2 separate regions of the Homo sapiens genome follow, and region 2 is linked to region 1. The links are contacts of gene promoters, found by promoter capture Hi-C in blood cells and fetal thymus (Javierre and others, 2016). All regions are on one chromosome and are shown on one strand. The core of a region is centred on a gene start or on the middle of the fragment in contact, and the rest is flanking DNA. Distances in the headings are between cores, read along the strand shown.

Evidence for each region. Contacts are between HindIII fragments. The CHiCAGO score rates a contact against its expected background, and 5 or more counts as called.
Region 2: a contact is called between a fragment that was not itself captured here and the fragment with the promoter of DYRK4 in region 1, in 1 of 17 cell types (M0 macrophages). The highest score is 5.0, in M0 macrophages.

Annotation. Positions count from the first base shown.
Region 1 is chr12:4,560,102-4,564,385 of GRCh38, reverse strand. It overlaps DYRK4 (dual specificity tyrosine phosphorylation regulated kinase 4), which reads right to left and starts at 2,178. Exons shown (of 15, transcript NM_001394779.1): 1 at 2,103-2,178. The coding sequence starts at 2,140. RefSeq lists a silencer at 2,049-2,343. The HindIII fragment of the contact is 1,088 bases long and covers 2,041-3,128 here.
Region 2 is chr12:3,891,596-3,895,433 of GRCh38, reverse strand. All of the region lies in intron 1 of PARP11-AS1 (PARP11 antisense RNA 1), which reads right to left. Among named protein-coding and RNA genes, the nearest start is that of PARP11, 20 kb to the right of the region's middle. The HindIII fragment of the contact is 2,249 bases long and covers 917-3,165 here.

The DNA of each region.
Region 1 (4,284 bases), core at 929-3,428:
GCATTCTGTGAACAGGTGATAATGTTTTTAATGAACTTAAGTTACATTCATTTTTTAATTGATATATAATAGATGTATATTTATATTTATATAATATATAATCAAGTCAGGGCTTCAAATTATTCTCTACTAGCTATTTTGAAATATACAATAGATTATTGTTTACTATTGTCATTCTACTGATTTATTAAACACTAGGTCTTATTTCTTCTATCTAAATGTATTTTAAGTCACACTCATTTCTGCCAGAGAATTCCTTGGACCCTCTGCATATATCCCTGAGACTCTTGAGGGTTCACTGACTCCCAGACTCTAAAGAGCTAGAAGAGGTTTTGGAGACCATGTCATCCATTTTCCCACCCTGGGGAAGAATCCTCTTTCTATGGTATTCCTGGCAATCACTCTGTCTATGCTGGAATATTTCTATGACAGAGTGCACTGTTTTTCTAGGCAACCCATTTCACACTCAACTGTTAATTTACATAGGGTTGGTACTTGATATTTCTTGGAAGAATAAACTATATTGAGCAAAATTTCCTCCACTGATCCTTGCTATCCTCTGCAGAGTACCAAGGAACAAATCTATCTCTTTTCTACTCAAGAGTTCTTGAATGTTCAAAAGTTGAGTAGAAAAAAGCTTTCTCTCCCTTGCATCTCCTCATCTCCAGGCATTCTGTGAAGTTTTTTCAAACCTCTCTTCATGTGATGGCACACCCAGGCCTGACAGAGAGAGCCTGCCTTGTGGTTGTTCCTATTTTCCAGTTCTTTGTGATCTCAAAGTAGCTACAGTTTCTAGAGTCTGGATTATGTTCTACTCATTGCTAAGTCAGGCAGCACGACCATATTCTTTGATGTGGTCATTGCATTTCTATGAATGCAGCCTCCACCAGCATTTGCTCTTTGGGGAGCCATCACAACACACTCACGATGGGCTTAGAGTCAGCTAAAACCACTAAATCCCAGCACTGGGTCCTCCACACGCTTGAGGACTATGCATTCTAGCCAAGTTGCAGGCAACAATATGTGGAGTTGGAGAGGGCAAAGTCAGGGAAGAGTGGCTGGCATATTGCTAGAGAGTCCCTTCCGATTTACCTCTGCTTTCTCCATAAGGACCAAAACAAACAAGAGAAACAACAGATTTAAGTAACAGAAACAATAAGGTAGAGTGCATGTTTGAAGAATTTCTTCGAACTCCTAGGTTTTACATACCGACCACATGTAGGTGATCAAATCGCTCAAGCAAGACAAAGGACATTTTCATTTGTTGTTTCCACGGTTTGAACTTTTCCACTAAATGGCCTCCTGCTTTTGCCGAGTCTCCACTTAAGCCTGGACAGTGAAGCTTGAATTAATATTGGTGATGCTGTCCGTTGCTTAAGACATGTCAGAGGGGTCACGGTTTTCCTAAGCTTTGAGGGGCTGCTGGACATTTCAAATGCAGCAAATGTCACAGAATAGCCTTTAAAAACCCTCAAATTGTGCATTGTTCATCTCTTTTTTAAGGAAAGATTTGCTAATATTGGGAATTTCCTGAGTGGCAGCTCTGGGTGTGTGATCTACACACACCTTCGCGCGCTTTTGTGTCAGGGGCTGGGCCCTGGTTGAGCACAGAGGTGCCCGGGCATATGGGCTGGGTGGGAACATGAGTAATGCCTGCCAGAGCCTCATCCACGCGAGGCGTGTGGTCGTGGACCCACTTACGACTACCAAGAGGACATGCAGTAAAGAAGAGAAAGAAAGGGAGGAAGAAAGTCTGGCGTCCCAGTGAGGGCTGGAAGCACAGTTCCAGGATAGGTCTGCTGAGTTCCTCAGAACCCCTCGCTCCCTGTCCTGCACTCAGCTGGAGTCGCCGATGCGACAGCATCTTAACATGGAAGTATACTGACGTCGGATTCCGGGGATGCAGCTGCTGCAAAAACTACAACTGTATTTTCTTGTCCGCGCACCACAGCCCGCCTCTCTCTGACCCACATTCCCCGGTCAGCTCTTGCATTCTGCACGCTTTTCATTCTCCCCCCACGACCCCGTCGACCAGAAGCTTCGTCGCCTGCCTCGTACTCGCGCCTGACTGCTCGTGAAGTACGAGCCTCCGCGGCCCTTACTTTGTTCCGGTGCGGATAGGCGGCGGGAGGAGCTGCATGAGGCCGGCGCTGACCGCCCGCCGCTGCGGGAGGCTGTGAGAGCCCGGCAGAGGGCAAGGGACGGCCACGCCCTCCTCCCGTCGCTATAGAAACGGCTCCCGCCCTTTTTATGACTCCAGAGCTGGAAGGGCTTTCTCAGGCTGTGGTCCCAAACCACCTTGCAGAGTAGCAGCCTGAAGAACATACTCCTCGTCCTCCTACTCGCATTCTCTTGCCCCAGTTCTTTAAAGTATAGGGCAAGAATTGAACAAAATCCCAGCATAAAGAACTTAAAGTTGGTTGCCCAGACCGGACACATGAAATTATCCCTACTCTCTCCCCTTCTTCAAGCGAAGCATGTGGTTATCAGAATTACATCACAGAAGTTCTGGCCGGGCGCGGTGGTTTTACACCTGCAATCCCAGCACTTTGGGAGGCCTAGGCAGACCACTTGAGGTCTGGAGTTCGAGACCAAACTGCTCAAAGTAGTGAGACCCCCCCGCCCCTGTCTCTATTTAGACATTTTTTTCTGTAATCCCAGCACTTTGAGAGGCCAAGGCGGGTGGATCACGAGGCCAAGAGATCAAGACCATCCTGGCCAACATGGTGAAACCCCGTCTCTACTAAAAATACAAAAATAAGCGGGGCGTGGTGGTGCGTGCCTGTAGTCCCAGCTACTTGGGAGGCTGAGGCAGGAGAATCGCTGGAACCCGGGAGGCGGAGGTTGCAGTGAGCCGAGATCGCGCCACTGCACTCCAGCCTGGCGACAGAACGAGACTGCATCTCAAAAAAAAAAAAAAAAAAGAAAAAAAGAAAAAGAAAAAGAAAAAAAGTAAGTACATAGCAAAAGTTCTGGGTAAAATCCATATATCAGCTGAACACTTTTTGAGTGCTTACTCTGCACCAGATTGTAGAAAGCATGAAAAGGGAAATTTGTAATTGAGTGGCAGTAGGTTGACCTGGAGGTGCACAGTCTGGTCCAGGCAGAAAAGACATTCAAATGAAGCTTTCTGAAAGAGCTGAGTTGAATCTGAGTCTTCAAGGACAGGCAGTAGTTGTCTACGTAAAGGAGGCAAGTCCTATTCTGAAGGCCAGAGCCATAGAAAAGCTTGGTACCATTGTGCCAGCACCCAGTTTAGTGGGGCAGGGATCAAAGTTGCACGTGGGCAGAGACAAGGTTGAAGCAGCAGGAAAGGGGGAGTCAGACACCAAGTAGGCTATGAACTCGACCAGGGTAAGGTGTGTATGTGCAGACTGCAGAGGGGTGTTCATGCTGACTTTATTTTATAAAACCCTCTGTGGCAATAACAATGGAAGTAGGCCCGAGTAGGTTAAGAATCAAGGCAAGGATGCCTGTTAGAAATAGTGAGTGATGATGTTTCAGAGTAAGGGAGAGCACATGGAAGAGTAGTTTTGAGAAATTTAGGAAATGGAGTAAGACTTGGTGACTGGATGTGAAAGTCGAGAGAAGACTCAATCCCAGGATGACACCTTTGGCACCTGCAGTGATGGTGGTGCCATTCATTTACCAACAGAAAACACAGGAGAGATGTCAGGGGTAGGAGGAGACGTTGAATTTAACAACTGATCTGCTACATCAAATTGTCAGTGGACCATCCACAGGTTCTGTTGTCAAGAGCATGGTATAGGGTACAGACCCTGACTTGGCAGTCACTGTCACATAAGTGACCCCTGGAGTTTGCATAGAACATGAAACTGGTAAGACAAGTAGGTAAAGGTGACACAACAGATTAGAAAGCTGCAAAATAATGAAGAGTAGGCATGGAGATGGGAAGAAATGACAAAGAAATGTGTCACATGAGCCAAGGAAATCAAATGTTTTCATCAGAGTATAATGAATAGGGTGTATAAGATTAGGTGAGAAAATTGTACACTGGGTTTGGCAACATAAAGGTATCAGTGCTTTCAGCCAGGCTGGTTTTAACATACTTTGAGGTAATTTTCAAATCCCCTGATAAACTATAAAGAACACGGCAAAAACAGGTTATTGAGCTGGTGCCAGATGATTAATCAATTATATCAGTACCTAATATACAGTAGGCTCTTATGTTTATTGTTGATCTACACCAAATAGAGTACCTCAGTGCTATGTAACTGGAAAATATGTTTTTAAAAAGGGGACAGGTGGGGCAGGTTAGGGGGC
Region 2 (3,838 bases), core at 792-3,291, 670 kb after region 1:
GGTAAGTCCAGAATGGGGGCTGGTAGTTAGAATGAAGACTATAGAGGGAATCTGAATATCATTTTGAAGGGAGAGATCCATCCATTCATTCAGTCACTCTGTGAATATGTATTTATTATGCACACACTACATGTCGGACACAGTTTAGGCAATGAGAATTCAGAATTGAACCAGACAGACAAAAATCCCTGCCATCATGGAACTTACATTTCAGTAAGGAGAGATAGACAAGTGAAAAAACCAAGTAAGTAAATATCTTTGGTCAACTGGTAATAAGACTGTGGGAAAAATCAAGCAGGGTAACTGATGGTTATGAAACTTTGAGGCTGGGAGAGGGGGGTATTTAAAGAAGGTAATCAAGGCCTCTTCACAGGGAAAGTGAAATTTCAATTCAGGCCTGAAGGAAGTAAGAAAGCAAGCCATGGGGATTTTTTGAAGAAAAGCATTCCAGGTGAAGGGAAGAACAAGTGCATAGACCCCGAGGTGGACTGTGCCCGGCATGTTTTAGGGCGAGCAGAGGCCAGGATGGCTGGAGCAGAGTATGCAAAAGAGACAGCCATTAGACATGGAGTCTGACAGGTGACAAGCGCCCATACTGTGGAGGGACTTGCAGGACATCGTGTTGAATACTGATTTTTGCTCTTATTATCCTGGGAGGCAGGGAAGTGACATGATCAAGCTTATAGTTGAACAGGATAACACTGAGAATTCTGTTGAGAATAGTATGTAGGCAGCTAGGGCAGAAGCGGGAGAGCAGTTAGGGGGCTGTCACATAGTGGCTGGGCTAGGGAGTAGCCTTGGAAACAGCAGAACATGGTTCTATTCTGCACATAATTTGAAGGTAAAGTGAACAGGATTTGCAGAGGCATCAAAAGAGAGAGAGCACATGTGAGAGGAAGCTCTAAGGGTTTAAGCTTGAGCAACCAGACCCATGGCCATTAACCGAGCTGGGAAAGGCTGTGGAAGGAGCAGGTTTGGCATCCAGACCAGGAGTTCTGTTTTTTGATACATTCGGATACCGATTAAACATTCAAATAGAGATTGTGAATAGGCAATTGGGCATGTGCATGTGTAATTATAAACATGGGCATCAAAACCATATTGATTATGTTTAAAACTCATAGACCGAATGAGATCACCAAAGAAGAGAGTAGAATTAGAAAAAAGAAGAGATCGGAGTACTGGGCTCTGGGCATTCTAACATTACAAGGTGGGGACCTGAGATGGAATCAGCAAGGAAACTGGAAAGGAGTATCCAGGAAAGCTGGAGGAAAACCTGGGGGGGAAGTCTTCTCAGAGGCCAAGTGAGGAAAATGTATTCCAGAAGAATGGAGAGATCAACTGTGCCATGTGTTACCTGAGGTGTCCAGGATGATGAGGACTTAGAAATGACCATAGGATGTCATGGTGAAGAGATGATTGGTGACCTTGATAAGAACAGTTTTGGCGCTGGTGGTTTGTGCATCGGAGAGAGAGTAGGAGGGCCTGGGTGCTGTGAAGTCCTAATTAGAATGACTCCAACAGAGGATGTGGGAGAAGAGAGGTCTGACATGGTGAGCAAGAACAACTATTTAGAGGAGTTTTGCTGTGTAGAGAAGGAGAGAAACGGGAGGAAGTGGGGTTAAGAGCGGTGTCCTGTGTGTGTGTGCGTGCGTGCATGTGTAAGATGGGAGCAGGTCTGAAGGCTCATGGGATTCATCCCGTATAGAGAGGAGAGCTGATGATTCAGAAGAGAGGGGAGAATGCTAGGATAGTGGTGGGATCTGGGGCGCACATGGACAGGGTGGTCTTTGTCAGGAAGAGAGCTACCTCATCCATGGTAATGGTATAAAAGCGAGACACAGAGTGACTGGTAAGTCGATTGACAGAAGCCGATAGCAATAGCTGGTCTCCTCAACAAGCCAAAAATGGGGTGTGGCAGGATAGAACTCAAAGGGCCAGGTCCAAAGGCTCATGGAGCTTTTGGTTGGTAAGGAGTGTATTTATCCCTCCTTGTAACTGAATCCGAAAGACATCAAGTGGAGGAATGCTTTAAACCATGAGACAGGGCCAGGTGCAGTGGCTCACACCTATAATCCCAGCATTCTGGGAGGCGGAGGTGGGAGGATAGCTTGAGCTTAGGAATTCGAGACCATCCTGGGCAACATCTTGAGACTCCATCTCTACAAAATATTAAAAAAATTAGCCAGGTATGGTGGCACATGCCTGTGGTACCAGCTACTTGGGAGGCTGAGATGGGAGGATCGCCTGACCCTGGGAGATCCAAACTGTAGTGAGCTATGATTGAGCCACTGTACTCCAGCCTGGGGGCAGAGTAAGACCTTGTCTCAAAAATAAATAAATAAATAAATAAATAAATAAACAAACCATGAGACAGAGTACACCTGAGAGTCACAGTTAGGAGCAAAGACTGGGAGTTGCCATCAGGGCTGAAGGCTAAAATCATGAGACTGGATGAGCCTATTGAGAATGAGGAGAGCGCAGGCCAAGGAGTGAGACTTGCAGGACACCGACACTCAGGGACTTAGGGAGCAGTGAGAGAGAGAAAGAGAGAGAGAGAGAGAGAGAGAGAGAGGGAGAGAGAGAGAGAGAGTGAGAGAGAGTGAGAGTATGTGTCAGGGTGGAGCAGGAAGCAGCAAAGGCAGAAATAGGGCATTGCTTTGCTAGTTCATAGCCTACTTTCTTCCCTAAAGAAGGGAATACAACTGAGCATGCAAGAGAGGACCAGATGTAGACAATTTCCTGAAGGAAGGAGACATCAGCTGGGCCACCTGCTTCAGGGAGGCCTGGGAAGAGGGGAGGCTTGGAAATATCACCAGATTTGGGAAGAAGGTCACTGGCTATTGAGGGAGCAGGTACAGAAGAGGAGTTTGGGCAGATGCCCAATTGCAGGGGCTTAAGATGTGATTAAAGGAAATGGAGACAGGAGGAGGGTGTGAGGCCATACCCATTGAAATAGTGCTCCTATGGAATGAAAGAAAAACATACGGAGGCTCTAAGGACCAAGCACACAATCTTACGGGAGTTCTAGCATGACATCAGAAGGACTCATGGAGTGGACGAGATCACGGAGAGAAAGGGCCAAGAGACTCTGGAGGTGATGGTGCACCCACGTGGTTCTCAAGATTGTCTGTCTAGGTTTTCCTTGTAGCTCAGCTGGAAGCTTCACATGGCAGGTGGAAGGACATTTCCAGACCCTTCATTACTGCCATAGCTTTTGGAAAGATTGAATACAACAAGGGACAGGGAAGTGTGATGTATTGTGTCCTAAAAACCCCTCAGAAAAGACAATTTGAAGCAGAACATATAAATGATATCTTGTGTTACTTTCCTCATTCCCTTTCTTATTTACTTTTCCCACATGCCTCTAAGTCTGGATGCAATTGTGTGTCTCTAGGAGGTGTTCTAACAGGCTTCTAGTCACCATGAGAAATCTTAGAGTCTCCTCTTGGAGCTGATGACTTCGGGTCTAGACCCTGAAACATAATATTCTACTATTCACAGTAGAATGAAATGGCTTCAAGTCCCTGCATGTCCCATGTATTACATATTTAGTATGTAATACTTACAAGAAATGTGACCCTGGACAAGGGGCGAGGCTTCCCTGGGCCTGGGTTTTCTCAGGTAGAAGGAGAGCATGGTCGTACCTCTGCTGCCCAGCCTCTCGGGGAGCAGGCTTTCTTCCCGAGCGATGCAGCAGGAGAGCAAGGAGGAAAGGAGGTGACAAGGCAGAGCAGAAGAGGAGAAACTGGGTGGGGAAGCCAGAGTCCAGGCGATGGACTGGCCTGGGATTTGTAACTGGACGGAGGCTGAGGTGGGTTGAGGGTCTGGGGCTCAG